2 separate regions of the Homo sapiens genome follow, and region 1 is linked to region 2. Evidence: promoter capture Hi-C in 16 types of primary human blood cells and fetal thymus (Javierre and others, 2016). All regions are on one chromosome and are shown on one strand. Each heading gives the region's core, a stretch centred on a gene start or on the middle of the fragment in contact. The rest is flanking DNA. Distances are from core to core; before and after follow the strand shown.

Evidence for each region. The method cuts DNA at HindIII sites, captures the fragments that hold promoters and counts their contacts. A CHiCAGO score of 5 or more calls a contact.
Region 1: a fragment that was not itself captured here is called in contact with the fragment with the promoter of FDX1 in region 2 in 4 of 17 cell types (naive B cells, total B cells, total CD4 T cells and 1 more); the score reaches 12.0 in naive B cells.

What each region holds. Positions count from the first base shown.
Region 1 is chr11:111,438,413-111,443,539 of GRCh38, forward strand. It overlaps a transcript of BTG4 not described here. Among named protein-coding and RNA genes, the nearest start is that of POU2AF1, 62 kb to the left of the region's middle. RefSeq lists silencers at 838-887, 908-977 and enhancers at 886-1,472, 2,309-3,508. The HindIII fragment of the contact is 450 bases long and covers 1,838-2,287 here.
Region 2 is chr11:110,427,455-110,432,663 of GRCh38, forward strand. It overlaps FDX1 (ferredoxin 1), which reads left to right and starts at 2,494. Exons shown (of 4, transcript NM_004109.5): 1 at 2,494-2,851. The coding sequence starts at 2,667. RefSeq lists a silencer at 2,308-2,957 and an enhancer at 3,028-3,307. The HindIII fragment of the contact is 8,631 bases long and covers 1-5,209 here.

The sequences.
Region 1 (5,127 bases), core at 813-3,312, 1.0 Mb after region 2:
CCTCTGGCCTGACTCTGTTCTTTCTCTGTGAAACCTTCCTCGACCCCTTCAGTTAGCCTCTGTCCAAAGCCAGGCACTCTCATGGGCCATTTCCCCCAGCGCTTACCAAATGTTGCCAGGTATTTTAGTTATCTGGGTAAACATCTTCTCTGTAAACTCCTCAACAACAGAGACATTTTATTCATCTCCATTCTCACCCACCACCGCCAGCACCTAGCTCTGCACCTTGCCAAGAGTAAACATTAAACATTTTCTGGATCAATAAACTCAGGATAATCCTCCCAAGTCCTTATTCTGAATGGCCACAGGAAAACCAAAACATTTCCTCATCTCCTTGGTGACCCCATACATTACCCTAAGCTTCAAAAGAGAGGATGCTAAAGAAGGCGTGATGTGGTCAGGGGGTCCCTGGATATGTGAACCTCCCCCGTCCTAACTGGACACTGTCTTAGGTTTCCATTTATACCTTCCCGGTGGCACCTCTGTCCCTGCTGTCCTATCCATCCACCAGAAATCTCTGGCCAACACATTAAACATATTTTCAAATCCCCAATTCCCTGAACTTAAGGGAAAGCAGGCTGCCCCGGCCTGGGTACTGGGTGTTACCTGACTAGCACGTGGGCTGCCCCCTGTCCCGCACACCCACCCGCTGGGCAGCTAAGCCTCTGCGGTTGGGACCCCAGGGAGGCTTCCTGGTGATTTGCATATAATCACACAATGCCAGGCACAACAAAGCCACTCAAACAGCAGAGCCTTCTCAGCTGAGTTTAAAGTTTAATCTCCTTAATACAAAAGTTTCTGCTTTGCTTTTGATGGGTTCTGGAACTCTTGCTGATGATGCTAAACAAATAGTCACCCTTTCTCCCCCTCTGGAGGCTTTGCCCAGCGCATTGTGGCAGCACAGGCCCCAGTTGTTGTGGTTTACGGGCCAGACCTGCACCTGCACTGTTTGTGTGAGCTCATCTGGATGCCCAGAAGGGCTCTTTAAAGAGAGCCCAGCACAGCCGCAGATGGAGCAGGAGAAGACACCAGCCCAAGGACTGCTACAACCCTTGGCCAGACACCAGCTCAAGGCTGCCTGTACTCTCGGTGCCCCCCACCGCCCTCTACTTCCCTTACAGAAACATTCATCCCCAAGTCCTCCTCCCAGAACCCAGCTCCCTCCTATGTGTCTCTCAGGACCTTCCTCTTCCAGATGCCGTCCAGCCCCCTCGTACTTCCCCTCCCAGACTCACACCCCCTCTCAGTTTCTGCACACTTTGCCTCATCATCTGGAGGCCATTCCTAGGTCAGTTTTCCTATTTACTTCAGCACTTCACCTATAGGAGTCATAGAGCCATCCCAAGCAAAGAGCCTCTAGAAGACCCTTTCAAAGACATGCTCAGCACTTTACGTTTTGGCTCCAGCTCCTCCGCCCGGTCATTTTGAGAATGAGCCATGATCCTCCATCTCTCATATTGATGCGGGAATTGGAAGTTGGTCATTGAACTGGTGGCCTGAATAGGGGTGCCCCAGCCATCTTGGTTATCTGTTTTTGTGTAGCAAACAATCTCAAAACTTAGCAGCCTAAGACAACGGTTGTTTTATTTTATCTCACAGTGCTGTAGTTCAGAAACCTGTTCAGGGCTCAGCTGGGTAAGTCTGCTCTGTTGGCATTGGCTGGGGTTACTCTGTGATCTGGGATCTAAGATGGTTTCATTTTCATGGCTGGTGACTTAGTGAGTATGGCTAAAAGGCTTGGCTCAGCTGGGACTGTTGAGCAAAGGGCCTGCACATGGCCTCTCCAGCCTAGCAGATCAAGGCTCCCAGAGAGAGTGTCCCAAAAGAACTCTGCAGAAGCTTCAAGCCTTCACATGACCTAGGCTCTAAAATCCCAGAATCTCACTTCTGCTACATTCTATTAGTCAAGCAGATTCAAAAGAAAAGAAATTGCAACATCTTTAATCTGTCACACCAGCTAAAGAGGTCTTTTCAGAAGCCACCAGCCCCTGTAACTAGTTCAGAGACAGAGTTTCCTGGTCCCAATGTCTAAATAACCTATCCTTGCAAATAGAACATCACAGTTACCAGCCTGCATGTACTAGGAGCTGACATCCTTTCCATTCTTTCCCCAGAGACTCAAACCAACATCCTACCCCTGGGCGGTGTCCCCATTTGACCCCGTTTGGCCTGCCTCTTACCTACCTTGGCTGTTGGCAGGAACTTTGGTTTTTCTCAGTTGCTGCCAGACCTAGATCTGCCCTTTTCAGATTTTTGTTCACAGATAGCTTTAGATGGGAGATAAGGAAGCTTGAGTCAGGTCAGTGCTGAGGCGAAGATGCTGCCCCAAGACAGGGGGAATGCCCCAGACTTGTCCCATCCAGCCCTTGCAGAATGGCACCAGCAACAAGCACCTGCTGTAGAGAAGGGTTGTCACTATGTTGCAGCTCTGAGACTCTACAGAAGTCAGAGGTGGGTCATGGAGATGAGGGGACAAGGAGAGTGAGGAGGGGATAGGTGACTATCTGCCACACCACTTAGGTACTGAGTCACATCAACATGTATGCAATACCTGGTCAGACAGGCACCCGCAGACCCATCTGGCCCAGACCAGCTGCACTTTCCCAGGCTTAGGCTGGGAGTGGCAGTCATCTGGCAGAGTCTTGGTTCCTGGAGTGAGGGCACAAGGTCACACAGGCCAGGGCCAGAGACCGCTCTCTTTTCTTTTTTTTTTTTTTCACAAATACATTTCAAATGTTATTATGAAATATGCAAGCCATACAAAAAGGAATGAAGAATACAATAATAAACACCCATGTACCCACAACCTAACTTAAGAAATAAAATATTAGCAAAGAAAATCTCATAATGTAATATCTCAGGGCTCTGGGGAGTAGGGGAGAGAACAGGGTCTGCTCATGTTCCCACAGGAAGGAAGGAGTATTGAGAAGGAAGAGAGAAGCAAACTAGAGCATCAGCAGCGGCTCCTCCGAGAGAGAGATGGCTCCTTGAGCACCAGAGTCAAGGGAGATTTTATGGGCTTGGGAACAGACCACAGAGAATACACCACCCTTCTTCTTTCAACTCTCAGCTCAGAGACTTCCCAGATCCCACAGTCTGAATTAGTCATGAGTTCCTTAGAGATGCCTTACGGATTGACTTCTCTGTCCTTGTCTGCTCTTGGGCTGTTTATAATATATCCATGCCTCTCCCACGCCTGACTATAAACTCCGTGACTGTGCCTCGCTTTTGATCTCATGAAGTTCTTGTACAGGGTAAGAACTCCTTGTTATTGACTTGAATGTGTGACTAATCCTGGGAAACCCCCATGGTTGACGGGCAGGGGACAGAAGCATTAACAGAAAGGGAAAAGCAAAGCGAGTTGGGCCGGGCATGGTGGCTCACGCCTGTAATCCCAGCACCTTGAGAGGCTGAGGCAGGCAGATCACTTGAGGTAAGGAGTTCAAGACTAGTCTGGCCAACATGGTGAAACCCCATCTCTACTAAAAATACAAAAATTAGCCAGGCATGGTGGTGCATGCCTATAATCCCAGCTACTCAGGAGGCTGAAGCATGAGAATCACTTGAACCCGGGAGGAGGAGGTTGCAGTGAGCCGAGATCGCACCAGTGTACTCCAGCCTGGGTGACAGAGCAAGACTCCATCTCAAAAAACAAAAAAAGAAAGAAAAGTGAGTTGAACATAAGAGACCAGAGCATAGCTAACACCCAGACTTTGGTTTCTAATAACATTCTCCAATAAAAAGGAACCAGAACTCCTTGGGGATATGGCCAATTCTAGGACGGGGACAGGAAATATACGAGATGAGATCAGGTGCGGTGGCTCACGTCTGTAATCCCAGCAATTTGGGAGGTCGAGGCAGGTGGATCACTTGAGGTCAGGAGTTTGAGACCAGCCTGGCCAACATGGTGAAACCCCATTTCTATAAAAATACAAAAAATTAGCCAGGCATGGTGGTGCACAGCTGTAGTCCCAGCTACTCAGGAGGTCGAGGCAAGAGAATCACTTGAGCCAGGGAGGTGGAGGTTGCAGTGAGCCAAGATCGAGTCACTGCACTCCAGCCTGCATGACAGAGTAAGATTGTTTCAAAAAAAATGTATACACACACACACACACACACACACACACACACACCAGATGAGCCTGGGGCATCTTATAGTGCCAAAAATATAAGGAAGTACTCGAAAAACAACAACAACAACAACAACAACCCACAATCATGAGGTATGTCCAAAGGACCCCGTAGCCCACTGGCAGAGCTCACAACAACCAGCACTGGATCATTTTGAAAGACAGGGAAAAAAAAAAACTCTCTATCTAAATCTAAAGTATGAAATGAATACCTATAAGTCCATATTGATATAAATAAATGTTCACGTGAATAAATAAAAATGAAGAAGCAACAAATCTCACATGCAGAAGAATCTCAAATAACTTGCATTCGATTAACTTACGTTAATTTCAAATAACTTAATTCCACCCTCGGGGAGGGATAAGGCAACTGCCCACTCCTTAAGTGTGGGCTGTACATAGTGATTTTCTTCCAATGAGCATAGTGTGGAAAGGGAAAAAGAGTAACCTCTACAGTGGAGGAAACCTGGCCAACGCTACCTCAGCCAGGTGATCAAGGTCAACACCAACAGTGATACATCATGTTGATTGCATGTACCCTTCATACAACGTGATGAAAATGGCACCTTGCCTCTGTGGTCTTCCTCTCAAAAACCCACACCTCCAGTCCAAGCGTTAGAAAAACATCAGATAAATCCTAACTGAGGAACATTCTACAAAATATCTGACCAACATTCCTCAAAACTGTCAAGGTCATCAAAAACAAGGAAAATTTGAGAAATTCTCTCAACTGAGAGTAGGCAAAGCAGACATGATGACTGGATGTCATATGTGGTCCTGGAACAGAAAAAGACAATAGGTAAAACTAAGGAAATCAGAACAAAGTATGGGTTTCAGTTAATAATAATGTATTGGTTCATTAATTATAACAAATGTACCATATTAATGTAAGCAGTTAATAAGAGAAGAAGCTGGGTGTGAGGTATATGAGAACACTGTACTATCTTTTGAAATTTTTCTGTAAATCTAAAACTGTTCTTAAAAAATAAAGTTTTTC
Region 2 (5,209 bases), core at 1,244-3,743:
AAAAAAGCAGATGCACTGAGCTAGACAAGGGTATGAATGACTATTTTTCCTTATCCCGCCATACATGAAAATTATGTACTTCTCAATATCCCACCTTTTCCCCTTTAAATTTGGAGCCTTCAAAATCATCTTCAGAGAAAGGCATAGAACTGTCTCCTGGGCGTGCATCCTTAACTTTGGCAAATCAATCTCCTAAAATGATTGAGAATTGTCTCATCATTTTTCTCGATTGACACCTTTATAAAAGGGTTGGAGGAAATTGGCATGTTTGCCCTTCTTGCAGCATGTGAGGACACAGCAACAGGACACCATCTTGGAAGCAGAGACTGGGCCTCTCTATCAGACATTAAACCAGTTGGCACCTGGGCGACCCAGTATCCAGAACTGTGAGAAAATAAATTCCTGTTCTTTACACATTACCCAGTCTGTGTGTTATTCTGTTATAGCATCATAAACAGAATAAGACAAAAGTCTTCAAACAATGAATGGATTTTGAAAGGAGTAAAAGATGGGCTGGGCATGGTGGCTCATGCCTGTAGTCCCGGCACTTTGGAAGGCTGAGGTGGGCAGATTGCTTGAGCTCAGGAGTTCCAGACTAGCCTGGGCAACATGGCAAAACCCCATCTCTAAGGAAAAAAAGAAAAAAAAAGGGATGGAGGGGTGGGAGTTTTATAGACAAAGAAATACATAAGCAAACAGATAAGCAAAAGCACGTCCTCAGTAATTCCATGTTGCTTTATCTGTATTCATGATCATGTTTACAAATCCATTCTGGAATTCTGCTGACTACTGATATTTGCAATTTTTGGCATTACTTCTCATCCACCTTAGAAAACCTGGAGAACATTTTTTCTATCTTTAATCTTCATATACATGCTTAATGAATTCTGATGATTATTAATGGAAATTTCATAACATCAATTTATTCACCAATATTTATTAGACCCTTGATATGTTCAAGACCCTGTAGCTGGTGCTGTCGGAGTCACTAAGATGAACTATATAAATAACTACTCTATGTGTACGAATAACTACCCTACAAAGCAGAAAGCTATCAAGTGCCTTAAGGGAGTTGAAACTGTATTTGCTACAGGAGGGCTGAGAGAAGACAGAACATCTACGATTTTTTTTCTTTTCAATTCTCTTCCTACAACTAATTCATCCGACCTTGGAAGTTTGGTCTTACTAAAAACAAAAGTTAGCTGTTCTTTTACAACCTCCTCTTCAAGATTACTTGTCAGGGTTTGCTGTGCCCTTCGCAGCTTGAAAGACTTTCTCTTCATCCAACGATTTGAGGCAATTAGGAGCCACTGCCTTCTCTCTGCCATTGGGTTCCAGAAAGCACCATACATTGTCCGCAGATACTTTACTCATGCTTACACTTTCTTGTTCTGAATCTTCAAAAATTAGTGGCGTGTGGTGGCACACGCCTGTAGTCCTAGCTACTCGGGAGGCTGAGGCAGGAGAATCACTTGAACCTGGGAGGCGGAGGTTGCAGTGAGCCGAGATTTCGCCACTGCACTACAGCCTGGGCAGAATAGAGAGACCCCATGTCAAAAAAAGAAAAAAAAAGTATCTGATTGTGTTTAGCATATCTGCAATATCCCCTTGACTTTGGCCTTTAGCCTCTTTATGAGTACCCTGATGGAGGAAGGCCCAGGAAGCGGTAGCCTTCCTGGTTTGTGACGCACGGTGTGCATTGCGTATTAGATTAACATCAGAATGGCCCTGAAGGCTGGAACATCTTATCTGTGTTTGAGAGTTATGGAAACTCTGATCCTCCATGAGAATAATTTTTCCAAGGTCTCAGATCTCTAAAGCAGTAGATCTTGGATCTGAACATTGCTATTTCTGACCTTAAAGCCCATGCATTTCCCACAACATATGAACCATGATAAGGTGTATTTTAAAGTTCATCTTTTCTGTTTTTTGTGAAAGTCTTTTAGAGATCTCAGCTCATCACAAAGTTTCCGGTTCAGTCTCGTGGGTTTCATGTACTCAGCCAGCATTTACTTGCCAGTCAAGGTCTAGGATGGCTACCTGTCCTCTGCAGGAGCCCCAAGCCTATTCATTAATTTCATTTACAATTTTATAGTCATAATTATTTCTTTGTATAATAGCATTCTGAGATTTTCCAAAATTTCCCACTGTTTTTGTTTTACAGTGGGCAGAATTCACTTTGCTCTAACTTGACTCCAAGATGACACAATTTCCCAGTTTTTTTTTTAACGGCTAGGGGATGGGGGTATGCGGAACAGAACACAGTGGTCTAGCTAACCGATTTCCGCTAGACGTCCAGCTATCTTTCAAAATATTTTGTTTCTGCACGGCAACTTCAGCCGCTAAAAAAGCATCCAGCTTACAACGGAACCTGGAGGGTTGGTAAAGGCCCCCTGCGCTGGCCCCGCCCCATGGGACCGGGCGGCGTGGGCGTGAGAGGCGGGGCGGGGCCGCGCTCTGCTTGCCAATGTCTTTATAGGTCACCCGGAAGGCACGCGGAACCTCGGCGCGGTGCTTCCAGCAGGGTCTCTCCGCCACTCCAGCCCCGCGCCCCTCGCCGCGGCCCTCGGGCGTCTGCGCCGCAGCTGCCGCCCCCGCCTCTTTGGAGTCTCTCGCGGCCTCAAAGCGCGGCCTGCGTCGCTTCCGGCAGTTCCCGACCGCGGGCGATGGCTGCCGCTGGGGGCGCCCGGCTGCTGCGCGCCGCTTCTGCTGTCCTCGGCGGCCCGGCCGGCCGGTGGCTGCACCACGCTGGGTCCCGCGCTGGATCCAGCGGCCTGCTGAGGAACCGGGGGCCGGGCGGGAGCGCGGAGGCGAGCCGGTCGCTGAGCGTGTCGGCGCGGGCCCGGAGCAGGTAGGGCGCCGTGCGGGCGCGATCGCCGGCGCGGGCCGGGGTCCCCGGTGGGTGGCGCCTGGCTCTCTGGGCCGAGTCTCTGGTTCCAGTGCCTTCTGCGCGCCGGGCCCACACCCCGGAGGCCTGCCTCTCGCCCCCCTCTTCTGGGGTGCTCTCGCGGCTCCGTCTCGCTGCTCGGTGGCGTCGCTGCCTCCCTTCCGTCGCACCGCAGAGTTCCTTTCCGCATCACCCACTCCCGGCGGGAATCGGGGACCCTGGACGCCCAGCTCCCTTTCCCAGCGCTTCCCGTGCCCTGAGGAAAGCCGGGACTTTGCTGCTGCTTGTTCTCCGTGTGATTTGTCTGGGATCTGACCTTTGCTCTGCCCGAAACTGGCAGTGACCTTCGCGACAGGCTTCCCTCCTGCTGTCCTGGCCTGACACACCTGCCAGCTGTTTTTTTCAGGGCCTTGCCCTGCTTTGAGAGGACACCCAGGTCCCAGGTCTTTGTCAGGGGGTGTCCAGGTAGAATACACCCAGCCCATACCCTCTGCTGCCCTGTAGGCCCTTTGCTAGTTGCTCAAGTGTTGAAAGCCCCTGCGTTGAAGTAATCTGCCGGGACTTGAAACTTGGCTTTGGCACTGATTGTCTGACGTGCCTAACTTGGTCAGTCCTTAGGAACCCAGTTTCTCCATTTGCAAGTTGGATATAATAACAGTGTAGACCTCCTATGGTTAATTGAAGAATCAATGAGTTAATACAGCGATACAGGTAGTCTTGTGCCTAGCACGTAATGAGGGCTCAGTAGATGCCACTTGGTAGCAGCAGCAGCAGCAGCAGCAGCAGCAGCAGCAGCTTCTTAGGTTCACAATGTTAAGAGAGTTTTGTATTAAATATTGAAAGAAATGTGACAATTTATCCCAAATGTGTTGAAGTTTTAGGTTCTTGGGCATATTTGTTTTTCAAAGACACTCCTTAGATATACTAGAGATACAATTTACACATAATTTTTACCAACATGGTGGCGATTTATATAATGCAGATCTCTCGACAGCTCTTTGACCGCATGATGTAGGGTAGCAGGAATCGAGAACTAGAGGGAGAGTGTGTTGGATTTGTACGCTGCTTTGTCTAGTTTCTTTTTGAGGTCTCTGAGAGCAGGGTCTAAGACTTTCAGTCATCTTTTCCCCACTAATCCCGTTATCTAGTGGGTGCTCCATACATTTTTGTTGTGTGAACTTTGGGGGAAATCAGGGAGAAGGCAAGCCAGATTTATTTGTTCCTGTTTCCTCTGCACTTCCCCCCCTGTCTTTGACCAGTGTGGGTACCTTGCTTTCTGTTATACAATGGATGAGTTTTGGACAACTGAATCAATTGGGACAGATATTGAACATGCTTGTGTAACTGGTATAAGGGAACATGAATGTTTTTGTAGTAATTGGGAGTTATCTTTCTCAGATTTGTTTTTTGGATTTGGATATGTCAGGTTGTTTTAAAGGGGAGCACGTCTATTTCCTCATAATCCTGCTGCCCTCTTTATTGGCACAATTTCTATTCATGGTCTTATCATTCCTCTTACAGACTTTGGAGCTACAACTGGATTTTCCAGTTCTTACTGTGTTAATGAGACTTGTGCTGTAACTACCGTAACTACTAATCACATGTGGCTATTGAAGTTTAACATAATTAAAGGTAAATAAAATTAAAGATTCAATCTCGTAGTTACACTAGCCACATTTCGAGTTCTCAGTAGCCACATGTGGCTAGTGGCTACTGTATTGGACATTGCAAGTATGTGTAGAACATCTTTGTTATGGCACAAAGTTCTTATAGACAGACAGAGCAGTTCTAGAAACTGTAGTTCTGTCTTTGAAGTTTAACAACTCGATAAGCTATCAGTAATTGAGAGTCAGAAAAACTCCTTTTACTCTAAAATACCGTGACACAAGGGGGTTTGCAGTGATTCAGGTAGCAAAGATCTTTCACGTGTATTGTTTCGTATGACTCTTAAGACAATTCTATGAGGTAGGGAGGGTAGATAAATGGGAATAAAAATTTCATATTAAGTAGCTGGCAAAACTAGGACTAGAACTCAAGAAGTTTTTGCGGATTTTAAAAAAATTTTAAATTTCTATTTATTTTTAAAATTTCAGTAGTTTTGGGGGCACAGGTGGTGTTTGGTTAATGGGTTAGTTCTTTAGTGGTGATTTTGGAGGTGTTGGTGTACTCTTCACCTGAGTGCAGTGGTGCCATCATGGCTCACTGCAGCCTACACCTCCCAGGTTCAAGCGATTCTCGTGCCTCAGCCACCCGAATATCTGGGATTACAGGCGCGTGCCACCACACTCGGCTAAGTTTTGTAGTTTTAGTAGAGATGAGATT